2 separate regions of the Homo sapiens genome follow, and region 1 is linked to region 2. The links are contacts of gene promoters, found by promoter capture Hi-C in blood cells and fetal thymus (Javierre and others, 2016). All regions are on one chromosome and are shown on one strand. Each heading gives the region's core, a stretch centred on a gene start or on the middle of the fragment in contact. The rest is flanking DNA. Distances are from core to core; before and after follow the strand shown.

Region 1 (5,421 bases), core at 1,709-4,208, 390 kb before region 2:
GTGTGTGCCTGTAGTCTCAGCTGCTCGGGAGGCTGAGGTAGGAGGATCACTTGAGCCCGAGAGGTGGAGGTTGCAGTGAGCCTAGATAGCACACTGCATTCCAGCCTGGGTGAAAAAAAAAGATTCCACGGACTGATTTCTCCTGTTGAATGTGTTAACAAGGCCCTGTGGTAGAAAAGTGTAGGGTTAAAGATCCCTTAGCCAAGAATCCCAATCTCCTGGTACTTGAAGTAAATCAAGTCTTTTTCCAAAATGCTATGGTGCTTAGTGCTTCTATCACACCATTTAATCCTTAACTGTCTTGACTGTTCCCTCAAGATCTAGTTATTGTTCTCTAATTATCCATAGTGCATTAATTGTCTCTCCAATTAAAGACTAAGTTCTTAAAGCAAAGACCCCCATCTCCTCCTCTCTGGACATTTCCCAAAGCATAACAGGAGTTGTACTGAGCACAGAATAAAGACACACTGGGTCCTTTTTCATTTAAATTGAAATCCAACTTCATTCTGAGTGTCAGGAACTAAACTTCCTTGCTGAAATTTACCCACCAAATGTAGTAGGAGACAGCAGAGATGATCTTTTTTAAAAAACGTCTTCCAAGTAGACTTGACCATTACGATTTGTACCTTCAACATCACTTGGAGAAGAGGCCCATTCTCTGCTTTAGCATCTGTGCATTGATTAAATAAGCCCTATTTTTCCAGCGGTAGCTGTTACCATTCCTGAGAAAGCACACTCAGATGTAAGATACATGCTTTGGCTTGGAAAGGCACCTCCATCTGGCCTGAGCATTTTTTTTTTTTTTTTTTTTTTTGAGACGGAGCTTCGCTCTTGTTGCCCAGGCTGGAGTGCAATGGTGCGATCTTGGCTCATGGCAACTTCCACCTCCTGGGTTTAAGCGATTCTCCTGCTTCAGCCTCCCGAGTAGCTGGGATTAGAGGCATGCACCACCACACCCGGCTAATTTTGTATTTTTAGTAGAGACAGGGTTTCTCCATGTTGGTCAGGCTGGTCTCAAACACCCGACCTAAGGTGGTCCGCCTGCCTCGGCTTCCCAAAGTGTTGGGATTACAGGTGTGAGCCACCACGCCCAGCCTTGGCCTGAGCATTTAGTAATCATCTTCTAACATTCTTTTCCTGTGTGCCCCTATTTCCTGTTACTTTCTTCTAGAGAGAAAAGAAGCCTTATTTTTACCACTTTGGCAGAGCCTTTTGAACAAAAGGCTTTCAGAATTGAAGCAGTACAGCTGACTTTTAGCTGCTCTGAGGATTTTCTTTGCTCCAAAGTATAGCAGACATGAGAAATTCATCAAATCTGGGGCAGATTCTTCATAATTATATGACATTAGTGGTTCTGAGAATTACTACTTAGTTGTGTGCTTGTTCCCATTCATCAAAAGGGTCCATGAAGAGGGGTTATTTCATTCCCATGTAAACATACAGACTTCTCAGAACCTAGTTCATGCTACTCAAAATATCACCTCACACATTTCAGAGGATTTCAGAAAAGTCTGTCAGAAAAAAACACATCACACTAGTCGAATTGTATTTAAAAGCTGTCTTCCGGCCAGGTGTGGTGGCTCACGCCTGTAATCCCAGCACTTTGGGAGGCCGAGGCAGGCAGATCACCTGAGGTCATGAGTTTGAGACCAGCCTGGCCGACGTGGTGAAACCCCGTCGCTACTAAAAATACAAAAAATTAGCCGGGTGTGGTGGTGGGCGCCTGTAATCCCAGCTACTTGGGAGTCTGAGGCAGAATTGCTTGAACCTGGGAGATGGAGGTTGCAGTGAGGCAAGATCGTGCCACTGCACTCCAGCCTGGGTGACAAGGTAAGACTCCATCTCAAAAAAAAAAAAAAAAAAAAGCTGTCTTCCTCCATTCTGCTTTCAAATTTTTAGTATTCAAATGACTAAAAAAGGTGCTAGTACAAATACCAGGCAGAAAGCAAACTATTAAAATTAATGAGTTAATTAATTAAAAGGCCAATGACTGTTGCACTCACTCTAGGAAAAGGAGAAGATCTTACTACAAAACAGCAGAGCCAAATAAGCAAAACGAAATAGGATGTTGACAGGTGTAAATTCCAAGCCAAGCAGCCTTCCTTCCTGACACCTCTGAGAACAACTCAGCAAACCTCAGAGCCAATCCAGTTACTGCTATTTTCCGCAACCGATACCAGCAATTCTCCAAGTTGAGACTAGTGCTCACCAAGAGTTCAAAACAAAGTGGCCTCCAACAAGATCTCTCCTTGGCTGCAGGTACCACAAACCTCGTTCACCTATTAACGCCTACCAGTAAAATAACTTGGTCATTTCACTCTCTACTGTTCCACTCCATCACTTCCATAACTCTACTAGTAGCTATTTACATAGATTTGGATACCTTGTGTTAGTTTCTTGAAACCAATATTCTTGGTTTCTATGCCTGACCAGAGCTGACCATACCTGACTACGGCTGCCCCTTTTCTACCTATGACCTGGAATAATCATGCCATCTTCCCAGGCTCCCGAATCCAGTTATTTCCCACTCAATTCTTCTTAGGCACAGTAATAAATGCATTAAGATGAACTAGACATTAGAAGGACTAAAGCCTGACTTACCTGCATAAATATCTATTCTGGTGGCATCAGCATCTCTGCAAAGTGAAAAGAAAAGAATCATGTGAATTAATATGAAATATCAACCATCAAAATGCATAGTGATTTGAGTAGAATGCAGAGTATTTTGAGTCTGTTTTCAGGAAGCCATACAGAAATTCTATAGACATTTAGAATTTTTTTTACTTTTATACTTGACAACACAATTTTCTTTATATATCTGTAAAACATTTCTGAAGCCCCAAATTATTGAAGATGATCACATGACATGGGGCCTGGATATTTTTTTTAAATCCTGATTTTGTGGTAAAAACATCTATAGGATAAGCAAGAATATTTCCCTTTATACCCTAAGAAATGATTCAAATATGTTTTTCTCACTCATTTGATTGCAATCATAAAAAGATGTTCCAATAACTTGTCCACTTTTTCTTCTCGTCAATATTTTAAGAAAAAAGGAAGACAATAATCTCCCACAAAACCTGTGAAAAATCACTTCTCGTGGTATACACACTGCAGTCAGCAGACTGATTCCTGAGCCCATAATCTTAACCTCCCTAAACCTGAAAGGAAGTTGGGATACCCCTGCCCCATTAGACTCCAACCATTGGCTGAAATCATACAGATTCAGTTATCAATGAAGACTTCCATAAAGGCTCAGAAGTAATTTAGTCCAATTCTGCCAACTGCAAAGAAAATGAAACCGTTTCACTGGTTTTACATGCAAAAAATCCACACAGCTCTACATATACCTATTCTCAAATATCTAAAACATTTTCAAATATGAGAGATACTGGCAAAATGTATACACAAGTAGGAATACATACTCCTAAGAATCTCTATTTTACCATATGATACACAAAAAAAGCAGCCTGCCACCGCACATCATGGTCTCACTAAATTAACAAGTGGCAAATTCAAACACAGTTCCATTAACCTACAACACTTTTTAATTGAATGGAAAAATGATGAGTCAACCAGGATTGAAACAAAACAGGAGTTTTCTGGTTAAACAACTAGCACACTTCCATGAGCAGTCCAGCTAATAACAACAACAAAAGTAATTAGAATAAGTTTATTGTATACACAGAGGTAAAGAGGAAATTATCAGCGAGCACATTAACTGGAGATCTGTTTGAAAGTACTTCCGCTGTCAATTTTCATCCTCCTCTTCCTTCCTTAGTCATCAAAACCTAGTCAGTAAATGTGTCTGAATTTTATGTTTGCATTCAGGAATAAGACTAAGACACTATTTTCCTAATTATAAACAGAATCTTGATATGGACTTGGATTTACATCAGAACTAACCCAAACTTCTATTCAGTCTTACACAGTAACATTTACATGTTTCTATCACTAAGAACTCAGTATAAGACAGTGCTGACCAATGATTCCTTCCAAGCACAGCTGCTAACAATGAAAGACACTGTGATCATTTAGTTATCTGACAAATATACAATTTGAGAAGACACAGAACTTTGGCATAGTTTTAAAGACATTAGATGGTGTACTATCCTGCTAGCACAAATTAAATCAGAGCCTGCCTGTCTCATTAATATGATTCCTAAGTGTCTATCTTAATTCCTTGCATTTTACTACAATTATCTTGCTCTAATACACAAGGGAAGTGGTTTTGGAGGTGATAACTCACTATTTTTAGGCTAGAACACAAAGAACAATTAGTGAATTTAAGTAAGAAAGTGGAAGTTATCAACTAATGTGCTATTAAAAATATTATTTTTAGTAAGAGGCATCCTAGGAGTTACAGAATGTCTACATTCTACAGAAATGTCTTCCTCTCAAGTCTTCAGAGAGCAAAGGTCACAGCTACCTAAAGTGTTTCCACTTCAAGCACAGATTGTATGCCTGAAGACTACATACCTTGCATTATCAACCAGTTCAGCAAGGGCACCAAACAAGAATTCGTGAGTGGTTCTGAAATGATAAATACTAAAAGTCAGCAAAAGAATTATTGAAGTTATAATTCCTAATAAAAAGCCATGGTTATAAAATATTTAAGTTTTTTGAAAAAAATCTTAAAACCACCATTTGCATTGTTTTTATACTACTCAAGGCTTTCCAGAGCTCCCCAACTCCCCTCAATTGTTAATCTTTAACAAGTCCTGCCATCTATTCAGAAATGATTATTCTTCCTATTTTGAGTTGGGAAACCCACCCTGAAGCATTGAAAGAGTCCTATGTGTAGTAACTGCTAAAAGTGTTTTTCACTATTCATATCCTGCCTAGAAAAATGCCTGTATATTTTATTTTTCATTGCCTTAACCAGTGGTCAGTTTCTGCATATCTCAGAGCAAGAATTTTAAGGATATATCTTATGCATAAATATTGAACTTTGTTTTTTGTTTTTTCTTTGAGACAGGTTCTCATTCTTGTCACTCGGACTGGAGTATAGTAAGTTTTGAATAACATGATAACTGTGTATTTACTCAATCCAAACTTTGAGCAGCCTCCCAGAGGAGATGACCACTGGTTCCCCTCCTTGAAGGGGTTAATGTTAACAGGGGCCCTAGGCAACCACACCAAGCAAGCTCTTGTCATCCTAGAAGGAATTGTTGGAAAAGGTCTTCGATTACTTTCTTTAATGGAGGGAAAGTTCTGGTTTTAGCCAAAATCTGAGAAAGTCATAAAATGAGTTATTCTCTTTACCTTCTCTTTCAAATGGGATATTTTTGCTTATAAATTACACAAAAGTGTATGAGTTTCCTTTCTTCACTGGTAGATGACGCACAAGTATTGGTAAAACAAAATGCTAACAAGTTATACATTGAGCATGTGCAATTTACACTGTTTAATTTGTGCTCT
Region 2 (5,369 bases), core at 2,022-4,521:
TCTCCCCAACCCCAGCATGACAAAGACAAAGTCACCACCCAGTTCTGGCTCCACAGGCCCAGGCCTCTCTGCCCTGGTTTTCTCTGGAGGGGGGAAGAGAAATGGGCATTTGTCTCTGATTTTGCCTCCCCACTCCCTCAATTCTCCCCACCAGAAACTCAGTGTTTTCTAGGACCAGAGGCGGTGGCAGTAGAATGAAACAGAGCTGCCTCACTGCAGCCTTTCCAGGAGGGGATATGTGATTCATTGTCCAGACTAAAGCCCCTTAGAAACTCAGCAATCCCCTCCCCCAGCCTCTCCCGCCACGGGCAGCCAATGAATGCCACCCGGATGGAATTCAGTCCCCAGAGGCCAGCAGTGGAGCCTTAAGTCCCCAGCTGGGCTGGTAAGCCAGATGCCCGCCTGAGCAGGTGGGCAGGGGCTGCCTGACCGGTAAGACTGGTTCCTGGTCGGGGCCCTCTGAGGGAGTTCTCCATCCCTGTGTTCACACACACAAGGTCCTACAATCCAGGTTAAAACCGGCCTTTTAGGAGAAAAACAAAATCACCCTCTGCTCCCAGACAAGTCCTCAGTTCCCCAACAGGCTAACTAGAAAGTGAACCTACATAGAGATCCTGTCCCCATTCCTTTCTGTCCTGAAAACATAAAGGGGCTCGTGGGTCCCATTAGGCTCTAGAGCTACCAGGTCAGAGCAGATCAAAGCTTTTGGTGTTAAGCAGCAGCTCTGGGTGACCAGCTCTGTGTCCCATGATCCCAGGGTGGTGTGAGAGGCACAGCTGGAGTCTACTGATCAGGATGGCCAGTGTTCTGTGTTGGGGAATCTGGTGCCTCAAGAGTGTAGGGAGTCCCAGATGCACTTGTTCCAGTACCTCCCTCGGCAGCCATTCAAGCGGGGAAGTCGCTGGAGGAGCCCAGTCTCCCGCCCCCAGAGGGGGCCCCACGCCTGGTGCCGGAAACACAAAGGGAGCCCTGGGGGAAGAATGGTGAGGTCCGGTGGCTCTGGCCTGAGGAATCCGGCCCCAGGAGGAGAGACAGTAGGGCACACTTAGCGTCAAAAAAACTTCCCTGAGGGAATGGAAAGCAGGTCTCAGGCATACCATCTCAAAATAAGGGCCCTTAAAAACACTCTACCCAAACCTGGCATGGTTCTATAAGGTCAAATGACCCCCACAAATCCCACACCCCCAGATCTTGGCAGGAGCCTTTTCAGGACTAAGATAACGTGTGGCAGGGGAGGAAGAGGGGGCCTTTCCTCACCTGGAGAAGCCTTTCCCACAGCTCTGGCAGATGTAAGGCTTGCCCACGGACCCATCATGGGACCGCACATGGTAGGACATGCGGTCTTTTCTCTTGAACCGCAACCCACACACAGGGCAGGAGTAGGGCTTCTCCCCAGAGTGGGACAGCTTGTGCCGGTTAAGATGATACACATCACGGAAGATCTTGCCGCAGATCTCACAAGCCACCTGCTTCCTGGTCCGGCTCCTCTTTCGGGGGCCGTCGGGGTCTTCAGAGATGGGTAGCCCATTCTCACCCAGCCTCGGAGGAGGAAGGTCGATGTAGCCCAGCTGGAGGCTGGTGACACCGTGCTGGGCCTCGTGCTGCCGGAGCCGGTTGGCATCAGTGAACACCTTACCACATAGACCGCATGGAAGGATGCCTGCCTCCCTCAGGCCCCCTGGGGACCCAAACATTGAGTCCAGCAGGTTGGCCTTCCTTGGGCGGCCCCGGCCTCGCTTGCCAGTCAGGGGAGGGGCACTGGATGCCACACTGGGGAATGGGGAAGTCAGCAGTTGGGGGGATAGGGGTCCAGCCACCATGGGCAAGCGGTCCACCCCAGGTAACACAGGCAAAGAGGCTTGGCCTGCAATGGCTGCACCAGCCGCCCGAGCTGCCTCCTCCTCTGGCTGCATGCTGCCGGCGATGCCATTGCTGTTGGCTGCCAAGGCTGCCCCGTTGGTCATGTCCAAAGGGAAGCCCAAGTCCGAGGTCCCAGGGGGGCGAAAGAGCATTATATCGGCGCGGGCAGGGGGTACCAGGATCTGTACGTTGGACTGTTTGATGACTTCCTGGCAGATCTCGATAACCGACCTCATCAGCAGGAACTTGGCGGCCGTCATGAGTTCGGGAAAGCTCTCCAAGCGCACCACGATGCGGGAAGTGTAGGCGAAGTCCAGAATGTCCCCAAATACCTTGGAGCTGATAGTGTGCATCTCCAGCTCCCGGCTGCCCCCGGCCCCGCCGCCTGGTGCTGCCGTCGCGCCCCCTACATCAGCCGGACCCCCGTCCGCAGCTCCGCCGTCGCCCAACTGGGCGCTGAACACCGACTCAAAGTACTCGCTGCAGGCGGCCAGCACGGCGCGGTGCGCTGGGAAGCTCTCGTCGCCTACCCGCAAGAGCACGTCGCAGAAGCGCCCGCCGTTTTTGCGCTGCTGGTTCAGGTTGTGCAGCATCTCCGTGCTGTGTCTGCTCACCTGGTATGTGTAGCAGCCAGACGGGCCGCACGAAGCGTCGTTCACCCGCTCCATGGCCGCCGCCCCCTCCCACTAGCCCGGCCGCTGCACCTGCCCGCCCCCTCCCTTCCCCTCAGCAGCGAGAAGCGGGGCGCAGCAGACGTGTCCACACTCCCCACACGTGCCGGCCCGAGGCTCTGTAGTCTCGCAGGTGCGCCGAGTGTACACGCCCCCAGCCCGGATCAGACTGTCTAGACTGCGGGGTGCACCACCCCCCACATAGCCAACCCCCGCCCTCGCTGGACTGCGCGCCACTCTCTCCTCTCCGCCCGCCCGCCTCCCCTTCCCGGTCTACCTTCCGGGGGGGTGCGCGAGCGAAGAGGTGCGCCCCTCCTGCAAACGCGCCTGCCACCTCCCCTCCCGCCCGCCAGGCGGCGCCGGCGCGCAGCCAAGAAGGGCACGCGCACGCGGGGAGGAGAAGGAGGGGTCCGCCGCGCAGGCGCGCGCGCGCGCCGCGGCTTTTCCCGGGCCCGCTGGGGGCGCGCGCTGCGTCCCCTGCAAAGCGCGAGCCGGGGCGGGGGCGCCGGAGCGGAGGAAACAAAAGGCGAAGGCGAAGGCGGCGGCGGCGGGGCGCGCACGGGGGCGGTGGCGCGGGCCGGGTCCCGGAGCCTGGAGGGCGGTGGCGGCGGCGGCGGCGGCTGGAGCGGGCGGGCGGCGGCGGCGGCAGAGTAGGCCCTTCCTCAGGCCGGGAGAAGGCGGCGGCGGAGCGGCGGCTGTGCGGCCCCGGGCTCCGTGTGTTCGGAGCGGAGGAAAGATGGCAGCGGCTGCACTTCCTCTTGCACTTTCACCCCTGGGGGGAGGAGAAGGAGGGGGCGATACCAACAACACCCCCCCTCTCGCTTGCAGAAAAAAAAGAAACGGCGAGCTCAGAGTGGGGGCCCCGGCGTCCCCGGCCTTGCACGTGCGCGCCCGGATGCCTAGCCCGGGCCGCCTGGCGCTGCAAACTTTACACTTTCTTTGTGCCGAGCGCCCCCCCCTCACCAAGACGAGGATGCACGTCCCCCCTTCCCTATTTATACACCCCCCCCCCGCAGTCCGCTCCCCCCGCTTCCTGCCCCCCCTCCCCATTCCCCAGATCCGCCAATGCTAGAGCAGCCTGAGCCCCCGTCCGGCCCCCGCCTCCCCACCCCGCCCGCGGGGCCGGGGGCTGCAGTCTCAGCCCCCCCGGACCAATGCAAACGAAGCGCCGAGCCAGCAAACCAGCTCCCACTGCCCCTCCCCTGCCCGCTGAGAGTGGCGGCTAGCAGGGTGGGGGGGCAGGAACTGAGGGGTGCGGATCCGGGCCCCCCAGCCTGCGAAGCGCACTCGCAGGTCGAGCGGGCGTCGTCCACCCTTCGGAGCCCCGCTTTCATGCGTGAAATTCCCAGAAGTCGCCTGCGACCGCCTCCCTGCTTCAAACACCAGAGAGGGCCCGGGGTCCTGGCCGGAGACAGGCCGAACCTCCGGAGCTGCTTCTGCACCCGGTACATTGATCGATCTGATGGGCTGCGCGCCCGGAAGAGCTGGAGAGATGAAGCCAGCGTCCAGCTTCTCCCCCAAACCACAGCACGCCGAGCTTTGTCCCCGGGGAGCGTGAAGTCACCAGCTCCGGGAGGCGACAATATGAGGGCGATGGACGGGGCAGGGACCCCCGGAAGCCCCAGCAATCCTCAGGGAAGTGGGGGTGCCGGAGGAGTCGGGGACACCCTCAGGCCTCTCCAAGCCCGGAGCATCCCCAGCGCCCGCAGCCCTGTGAGACGCCGGGTGCTCTGGTAATGGGCCCTGCCGCCAGGCCTCGGCGCTTTGTCCCCGGCCCGCCCGGGGATGCTACCACGCTAGAGTTGTACACCAAGGTTTGTCTTCCCAGGAAGCGCTGGCGGCTGCCTTTGGGCCGCCTGGCGCGGAGCCCCAGGCTGCAGGCGCCGCGTGTGCGGGCGGGAAGTTCCCACAGTTGCAAAGAGGCAGCGAAGTATGTGTTCCAAACTTTCCACGGTTCCAAACTGAGCGCTTCCATTAAGAGAAGCGGTGTGCGGGGGAAAAGCATTCTGGGTATTAGCATGCAAATGAACGGGCCCGGCTTCCAACTCCGCTCGGGATTCCCACCGCTGCGCGCCGAGCTCGCGCCCAGCCACGCGCGCCCTGAGGCTTCCGGGCGTTGCCCTGGCGGATGATCCGAGTTCAAAATCGAGACCTCTGCCTTCTGGTTTCGTGTCCTGGTGCTTAGTCACTTGGCCTCCCTGAGATTCAGTTAAACTGTTTCTTAACCTGTGCACAGGGACAGCAGCACCTGTCCTGCACACCTCCGCTCTAGGGCATAGTACATGCCAAACTCCTGTTGGAGAGAATGAATTAGAGGCATGAAGAAAGTTCCCTGGACACGAAGCCAGGAGATCTGTGTTCTAAGCCCAGACTCACTGTCACCTTAGGCTAGTGCCTCCCTCTCTGAGCCACAGCTTTCTTGGGCGGATTTTGGGAACTGGCACGTTTTATTTTTGAGAGAGCTGCTGGGAACATCCACAGAGAAAGAGAAAGGGGCCGGGCGCGGTGGCTCACGCCTGTTATCCCAGCACTTTGGGAGGCTGAGGCGGGCGGATCACCTGAGGTCGGGAGTTCGAGACCAGTCTGACCAACACGGAGAAACCCCATCTCTACTAAAAATACAAAACTAGGCCGGGCGCAGTGGCTCATGCCTGTAATCCCAGCACTTTGGGAGGTCGAGGCAGGCGGATCACCTGAGGTCGGGAGTTCTAGACCAGCCTGACCAACATGGAGAAACCCCGTCTCTACTAAAAATACAAAATTAGCCGGGCGTGGTGGCACATGCCTGTAATCTCAGCTACTAGAGAGGCTGAGGCAGGAGAATCGCTTGAACCTGGG

The links. The method cuts DNA at HindIII sites, captures the fragments that hold promoters and counts their contacts. A CHiCAGO score of 5 or more calls a contact.
Region 1: a fragment that was not itself captured here is called in contact with the fragment with the promoter of PATZ1 in region 2 in 1 of 17 cell types (neutrophils); the score reaches 5.9 in neutrophils.

Annotation. Positions count from the first base shown.
Region 1 is chr22:30,954,162-30,959,582 of GRCh38, forward strand. MORC2 (MORC family CW-type zinc finger 2) reads right to left here. Exons shown (of 26, transcript NM_001303256.3): 2 at 4,480-4,533; 3 at 2,602-2,636. Among named protein-coding and RNA genes, the nearest start is that of MORC2, 12 kb to the right of the region's middle. The HindIII fragment of the contact is 8,448 bases long and covers 1-5,421 here.
Region 2 is chr22:31,343,075-31,348,443 of GRCh38, forward strand. PATZ1 (POZ/BTB and AT hook containing zinc finger 1) reads right to left here and starts at 3,272. Exons shown (of 5, transcript NM_014323.3): 1 at 1,258-3,272. The coding sequence starts at 2,528. LINC01521 (long intergenic non-protein coding RNA 1521) reads left to right here and starts at 3,685. Exons shown (of 1, transcript NR_120386.1): 1 at 3,685-5,369. RefSeq lists enhancers at 1-130, 131-669, 670-1,207 and silencers at 2,028-2,097, 2,648-3,067, 3,438-3,507, 3,558-3,777. The HindIII fragment of the contact is 6,732 bases long and covers 701-5,369 here.